Linked DNA regions of Homo sapiens: region 2 is linked to region 1. The links are contacts of gene promoters, found by promoter capture Hi-C in human tissues and cell types (Jung and others, 2019). All regions are on one chromosome and are shown on one strand. Each heading gives the region's core, a stretch centred on a gene start or on the middle of the fragment in contact. The rest is flanking DNA. Distances are from core to core; before and after follow the strand shown. Region 1 overlaps AGO3 (argonaute RISC catalytic component 3). Region 2 holds the start of TFAP2E (transcription factor AP-2 epsilon).

Evidence for each region. The method cuts DNA at HindIII sites, captures the fragments that hold promoters and counts their contacts. A contact is called where the count stands out against the background at its distance.
Region 2: a contact is called between the fragment with the promoter of TFAP2E here and a fragment that was not itself captured in region 1, in 2 of the 25 tissues and cell types used here (H1 embryonic stem cells and liver).

Annotation. Positions count from the first base shown.
Region 1 is chr1:36,066,401-36,069,776 of GRCh38, reverse strand. AGO3 (argonaute RISC catalytic component 3) reads right to left here. Exons shown (of 19, transcript NM_024852.4): 19 at 1-3,376. Among named protein-coding and RNA genes, the nearest start is that of TEKT2, 16 kb to the left of the region's middle. The HindIII fragment of the contact is 8,465 bases long and covers 1-3,376 here.
Region 2 is chr1:35,571,530-35,574,905 of GRCh38, reverse strand. It overlaps TFAP2E (transcription factor AP-2 epsilon), which reads right to left and starts at 1,592. Exons shown (of 7, transcript NM_178548.4): 1 at 1,302-1,592; 2 at 497-979. The coding sequence starts at 1,328. TFAP2E-AS1 (TFAP2E antisense RNA 1) reads left to right here. Exons shown (of 3, transcript NR_183387.1): 2 at 208-546. RefSeq lists enhancers at 141-887, 1,129-1,628. The HindIII fragment of the contact is 7,667 bases long and covers 1-3,376 here.

The sequences.
Region 1 (3,376 bases), core at 425-2,924:
TCAATTTCTAAGTATTTGATGGTTTTCACCACATTAATCTAACTCAAAACTGCAGCTGCCATAGCACCACTAAAATCATTTGGTTTTTGAAAAGTTATGCTTTTGCCAAGGATTATTATAAAGAAAAATTCAGCCTGTGTGCTGGATATCTTGCAGGGAAGAAACAACAGGATATGTTTGTAAGTGAACACTACACCATGATAAGGCCTATGTTTCTCTTATTCCTATTTCATAAAATGATCTACAACAAAGACATTTTCACAGAGGCAAACTGGAAAGGAATCCTTCACACAACACTCTTCTATTATCTTGAACGTCTGAATAGCTTTTCCTTTGGAGAACTCAAATGCTTCCGCAAACATTATCTTATTCTTACAACAATTTAGTGATCATGCCTATAATCCCAGCACTTTGGGTGGCTGAGGCAGGAGGACTGCTTGAGCTCAGGAGTTAGAGATCAGCCTTGGCAACATGTGAGACCCCATCTCTGCAATAAAAGAAAATAATTAGCTGGGTGTGGTGGCATGTACCTCTAGTCCCAGCTACTTGGGAGGCTGAAGCAGGAGGATAGTTTGGGCCCAGGAGTTGGAGGCTGTAGTGAGCTATGATCACACTACTGTAGTTCAGCCTGGGCAACAGAGTGAGACCCTGACTCAGAACAAAAGAACTCCAACAATTTAGTGAGGTAGGTGAGGACAGGTATTACCACTCTTATTTACAAGGGGAAACTAGGCACACAGAGATTAAACGAATTGCCTAAGGACACGGAGCAAATCAGTGGGAGACCTATTACTAAATTCCAAGTCTCTGGCTCATATTCTAGAGCCCTTTCTACTCTCAAAGGCAATAAATTCTCAATAGGCTTTTTCCATTTGTGATCTTTCAAAAGTTCCTCCATTAAAGAACACCTTAAGCCTTCTCTCTTATAGCCCACGCTTGACTAGGAACTGGGATGAGTTTTAAACTATTTTTACACAATATTTTGCACATATCAAGAAGGCAGATGTGAGACATAAGCTGTATAATAAAGTCAGAATAAATACATAAATTAAGAGAAATGAACAGGTTAAGTATTAATTCATTCAATATAATTTTTTACATATTTTAGAAGCCATGTATCAGAATAAAAGTCATAACATTTTAAAGTTTAAATCAGAGTCCAATTTATCAAAACCATAAGCTATATTAATTTTCTTTAAGAATATGAGGATCTCTGTTGGTTGGCAGAAGGTTAGAATATTACTTTCAAGAATAATTCTTATTTATTTATTTATTTTAAAGATTGGGGTCTTGCTGTATTGCCCAGGCTTGCTTTAAACTCCTGGGCTCAACTATCCTCCTGCCTCATCCTCCTGAGAAGTTCGGACTACAGGTGCAAACCACCACATCTGGCTAATATCAACAATAATATTATCACTGTGCCATAATACATCATATTCCTGATATATACTCTGTTCACATTAGCATTCTATAGCCAGCAAAAAATTCCATGGCTAGAGATAATACTTGCAACATTAATACTTTCAATCTTAATTCTCACTTAACTGAGTTAGAATTTCTCTTCATATATGTTAAAGTTACATTGTAATAATCATCATTCTATCTATTTTTGTTTTATCCTTCCCCTCTTTTATTTTTAACAGTGTGTGTGTTTGTGTGTGAGTGTGTGTGATGGGGAAAAAAGAACAATTGTGTGATTCACAAATGGCATAAAACACTGATTGTATTACAAATAAGAATGGTGGCACTCTAGTAAGTAAGATAATGGAATGTCAAAGGAAACAAACTTTAGAATACAAACATGGAAAACATGCTAAAATATTAATCAAGCTATAGCTTGTGGCATGTGATTCTTCTTTCCCAAGTATTTTGAGAGTGTCATTTACCCCCAGTAGAATTCTATATCAACTGCCTCTAAGTCCTTTTCCTATTCCTTCTTTTTTTTTTTTTTGAGACGGAGTCTCACTCTGCCACCCAGGCTGGAGTGCAATGGTGGGATCTCGGCTCACTGCAACCTCCGCCTCCTGGGTTCCAGACTACCTTGTCTGGAAAGGCCCTGCTTGGTGTTTTCTATTTAAAGGGGAAAACCAAACATGTTATGTTGATAGCAATGCCTGGCTCTATTAAAGATAAATCCTTCATTTAATTTCCTTATTGTAATTCAGACTAGCAGGATTCTCCTGCCTCAGCCTCAGGCGCCTGCCACCACGCCTAGCTAATTTTGTATTTTTAGTAGAGACAGGGTTTCACCATATTGGCCACGCTGGTCTCAAACTCCTGACCTTGTGATCCACCTGCCTTGGCCTCCCAAAGTGCTGGGATTGCAGGCATGAGCCACTGCTCCCGGCCTATTCTTTCTTTTTTAAAGAGGGAATGGGGTTGGACCCTGGGCTAAGAAATGAGAAAGCTCCTGGAAAACCTTAATTGCAATTAATTACTATAGAAGATCAAGTCTGTTGCTAGCAAAACCAAAGCTTCCTTTTGTTAAACTCCCTGGGATCAAACTGTATCCATGAACTGGGTCGGACTGTCTATGCCAAAATTCTTTCTTCATTACAAACTAACCAGTGTTTTTACCAAATCCCACACCAAAACCATTTTCTTTACAGGAAAGACTACATTGTCTGGAAAGGCCCTGCTTGGTGTTTTCTATTTAAAGGGGAAAACCAAAGACACTATGTTGATAGCAATGCCTGGCCCTATTTAAGGATAAAGACTTCATTTAATTTCTTTACTGTAATTCAGAAGCAACTTCCAAGACTTCTCTAAGTTACTGAGAATAGGTGTGCCTTTGGGTCTGGGACAACATTATCATATAAATTTAGATTACAGAGACGCTCGTCTTAGGTCTCTTCTGTAGGTTCAAATAGCAATAGCTGCTCTTTTACTCTGCAAATATTAAACAATTGTAAGGTTTCTGTCCAAGGATCCCAGCAAGGAAGCCTTATCCTAAATCCCCCCTCACTATATATTCTCACAATCCTACTAGTCTATTTCTTTACAAAGACCTCCAGTTTCTACAGATTCTGACAATAAAGAGTCACGTATGCAACATTTTTGCAGTCTTTCCTTCTTTGGTTCTAAAAAGACTATTAAAGGACTAACTTAAGAGATTTTTGTTTGTTTTCCCAACCAAAAATGAAATAAAGATGAAATAAAGCCATGAAATAAAGATGAAAGTTTTGTCTTTTATTTTTAAAATTATTATTATTTTTTGAGACGGAGTTTCACTCTTGTCGCCCAGGCTGGAGTGCAGTGGCATGATCTCGGCTCACTGCAACCTCCGCCTACCGGGTTCAAACGATTCTCTCGCCTCAGCCTCCCGAGTAGCTGGGATTACAGGCGCCCACCACCATGCCTGGCTAATTTTTGTATT
Region 2 (3,376 bases), core at 343-2,842, 490 kb after region 1:
GCCGCCCATGTCTTCCCAAGCCCCTGCCACCCAGGGTCTCTGTCTGCTCCGCCCAAGGCGCACCAGCTTCGCTTGGGGCGGCGACGGGCAGGCCCAGGAATCGCTATGTCCAGGCACTGAGCTGGAGCCCTGGGCATCTCACTGTGCAGTGCAAAAAGGGAATTTTGAATCTTACACTGGTAACTATTATGCTTCTCTTCGCCCCAGGTGCAGGCTGCCCCATGGATGCCACACGTGGCAGCGGGGAGAAAAGAAGTGATTCGGTCCCTGCCGAGGGTTGCTGCCACCCACGCACTGCTGGCGGACTCAGTGCCAGGCAGCCTTGATGGCCAGGCAACGTCTAACCCAGGAGGTGGGACACATCCTCGGAGTCACCAGTGAGATGTGGCGAGCTGGGAGAAAAGTCGGCTTCCTGCATTTGTCACCTTCTGCCTCCAGCCATGGTAGTAAACCACCGCGGCCAGTCCCGACCCATCCCGGATCCCTCGGGTCTCACCTGCAGGTCCTCCAGACCGGGGGCCGCCGCCAGCCCCGGAAGGCCGAGAGGTGCGTCTGCCAGGCCGTGCGCGCCGTCGGCCAGGCCGTGCAGGAGCCGGGGCACGGCAGTGGCATAGTCACGGCGCGGGTCAAGGCCCAGGGCGCGGGCGGGCGGTGCCAGCAGGCCGGGAGGCTCCTCGTGGGCGCGGGCGGCTGCGCGGGGCGCGGCCCAGGCGGCCTGAGGAGGCTGCGGCTGCGCCAGGGGCGCCAGGCCGCCATATGGGTCCCCTGCCAGGTGGGGAAAGGCTGCGGCGGCGTCGGGCGCCTGACCGTAGGGCAGCGGTGGCTGCGGGTAGGGCGGCGGGAAGTAGGGCGGCTGGAATTCGGCGGCAGCTGTGGCGGCCGGCGTGTGGCAGAGCGGGGGCGCCGGCCCGTAGGCCGCCTGGGGCAGAGACGACAGGCGGGCCCCGCCGGCAGCTGCTCCCAGCCCGTCGGGGCGCTCCTGGGGAAGGAGAGGGGTGCCTTAGGTGACCCACTGGCAGCTGAAAGGACCCCAGCCTGAAAGGATCCTCCTCAGCTCGGGAGGGTTCAGCTGCAGTCCCTCCCGTTTCTTGGGGCCCGAGGTTTATTTCCGAGCCACCCGCGGGCGCAGGAGCCTCAGGCTGGGGACAGCGGTCACTTGCGCATCGCGTTCTCAGCTGGCGAAGTCCCTGCGGCCCCCTCCCTCCGAGATTTCGTTAGCGCGGGACAGGAGGGTTGGAAAGTCCAGCACTCAGGCGCCCCGATCCCCCGGCCGAATATGTCCCGGGCCCGAGACTACTCACCATGGCGGAGTAGGTGTGCACCAGCATGGGGCGGTGAGTGCCGGGCGCGAGGCGTGGCGGCGGCGGAGCCCTAGCCCGACGGCGAGCGCTGCGGGCAGAGGCGCCGGGAGCCGGCACAGCCCGCGGAGGTCACGGTGCGGTAGCTGGGTGCGACCCAGCCGGGATCCTAGTGGGCGTGGGGTCCTCAGCGGTGGCCGTTCCCGGGCGGGTCCATGGAGGCAGGACGGACGGGCACTGATCGCACTTGGAAAAGTCGGTCAACGGGTGCCCAGCGCCCGCCCTTCCTCCTCTGAGCGTAGCCTGCTCCATGCACTCCAGTTATAGTGGCGGGGGCGCGCCGGGCCTCCGGGGGCGCGCATTAAAGAGACAAGCTATGGCAGTTCTCTCCCTTTTCCCCAGCGGCTGCCACAGGGGAGGCAGTGGCTTTGGCGGGATCGGGTAGGGTGGGTAGGGGGCGTGAATTCAGCCCACATTGATCAGAGCCGCCTTCTGGGCTCGCAGCTCGCAGCTGCAGTGAAACAGAAATATTCGAGGCTGGGACGCAAGGGCCCTACATTTGCCTGGCTCTATCACATCCTTGCCTTTAAGCAAAGCACTATTCTTCGCTGGCCTCAGCTTCCTCGGTAAAATAGGTATCAATCCTTTCTCTAAGCACCTCAAGAGACTTTGGATGAGGTGGGTAATCGGGAACGTGGAAGAAGTTTGTGAGCTGAAGACTCCAGCCTATCTGCTCATGCGCACACAGTGTCAGTGCGTGTGTTTAGGGGGTCTACCATCACAGTCTTTCCTGAATGGTTCTGGATCAAAATCCCTCGAAGGTGCCCACTTCGCTCTCAGGCTTCCTGGGCTGAAAACTTCCAAGCCAAGCCAGGCTCTGAGGGAGTTGGAGACAGAAGCTGGCCAGACAGAGAGAGAGACTTGCCTGGGATGGGTTTGGGTATGAGCTCCACCTGACAAGGGGCCAAGATATTTCTGAAGCCACAGGGTCCTGGGCTGATTGAGTGTGGGCATGAGATACCCAGAGACTGTTGAGTGACTGTGTGTAACTGACTAGCATGGATGCCGTGTGATTGTTACACTAACATGCGCAGGCTACATGTTCCTGTGTTACCATGGCAGGCACTCCCTGGCTGTCAAGCAAGTTCCAGTCTCTGTAGTCACTCTCTCTTTCTCCCCAAACCCAACCCTCCCCTCCTGACAAGCAGAGACAGGGATTAAAGATGGACAAATGAGAGGAATGCTAAGGAGAACAGGAATTAAGAAAGCAGAAGAAAGATGTTTTTTAAAAGCAAGATGTGCAGACCAGGGCAAAGTAGAAATAATCACAGCAGACTTATTACAGAATGTGCCAGCCTCTGTGCAAAGTGCTTCACGAATATTGGGTTCTTTAACCCTCACAGCAGCTCTATGAAAGAGATACCCATATCATCCCCATTTTCAGGGGAGGGGTGAGGCATGGAGAGGTTAAATGGCTTGCCCAAGGTCAAGCAGCTAAGTGGCAGAGCTGGGGTGATCTGCCCCTGGCCCCTCTCTGCTCAGAATCACTATTCTCTACTGCCTCAGACTCAGGGGCTTGGATTTAGTCCTGACTCTGCCTAACTGTGTGATCCTAGCTACATCCCGTTTCCTCTGTGATCTCAGTTTCTGCAACTTCGACAACACCAATAAAAAAGTAGGGGAAGGCAGAGAAGACTAGTTGTTTTTTTAGGTCCCTTTTTAGTGAAGTAGTAAATGAGAAGATTAAGGTAAAATTATTGATATAGAAGAGGAGGTGATAGTGACACCATTAACTCATGGAATATATGGTTCCAAGTGGGTATCCCAGAAGGCACATGGCAGGTGCAGAGCTCAGGGCTGGATGATCTCAGCCTGGGGAGTGGTGGGGAAAGAAGGAGGCTAGAAGCCAAGGATTCATCATTAAGAACTTTCTGAAGTCTGGAACCGCCAGCGAGGTTCCAGAGGATGAAGCGGAATTGGGAAGCTTTGCAACTTTCCTGCTCGAGATGGGTCAGAGATCAGGATTGTGTTTGTGTGTATCTATATATGAGGGAGTCTGTGGCAATGCCCTGTTCCTC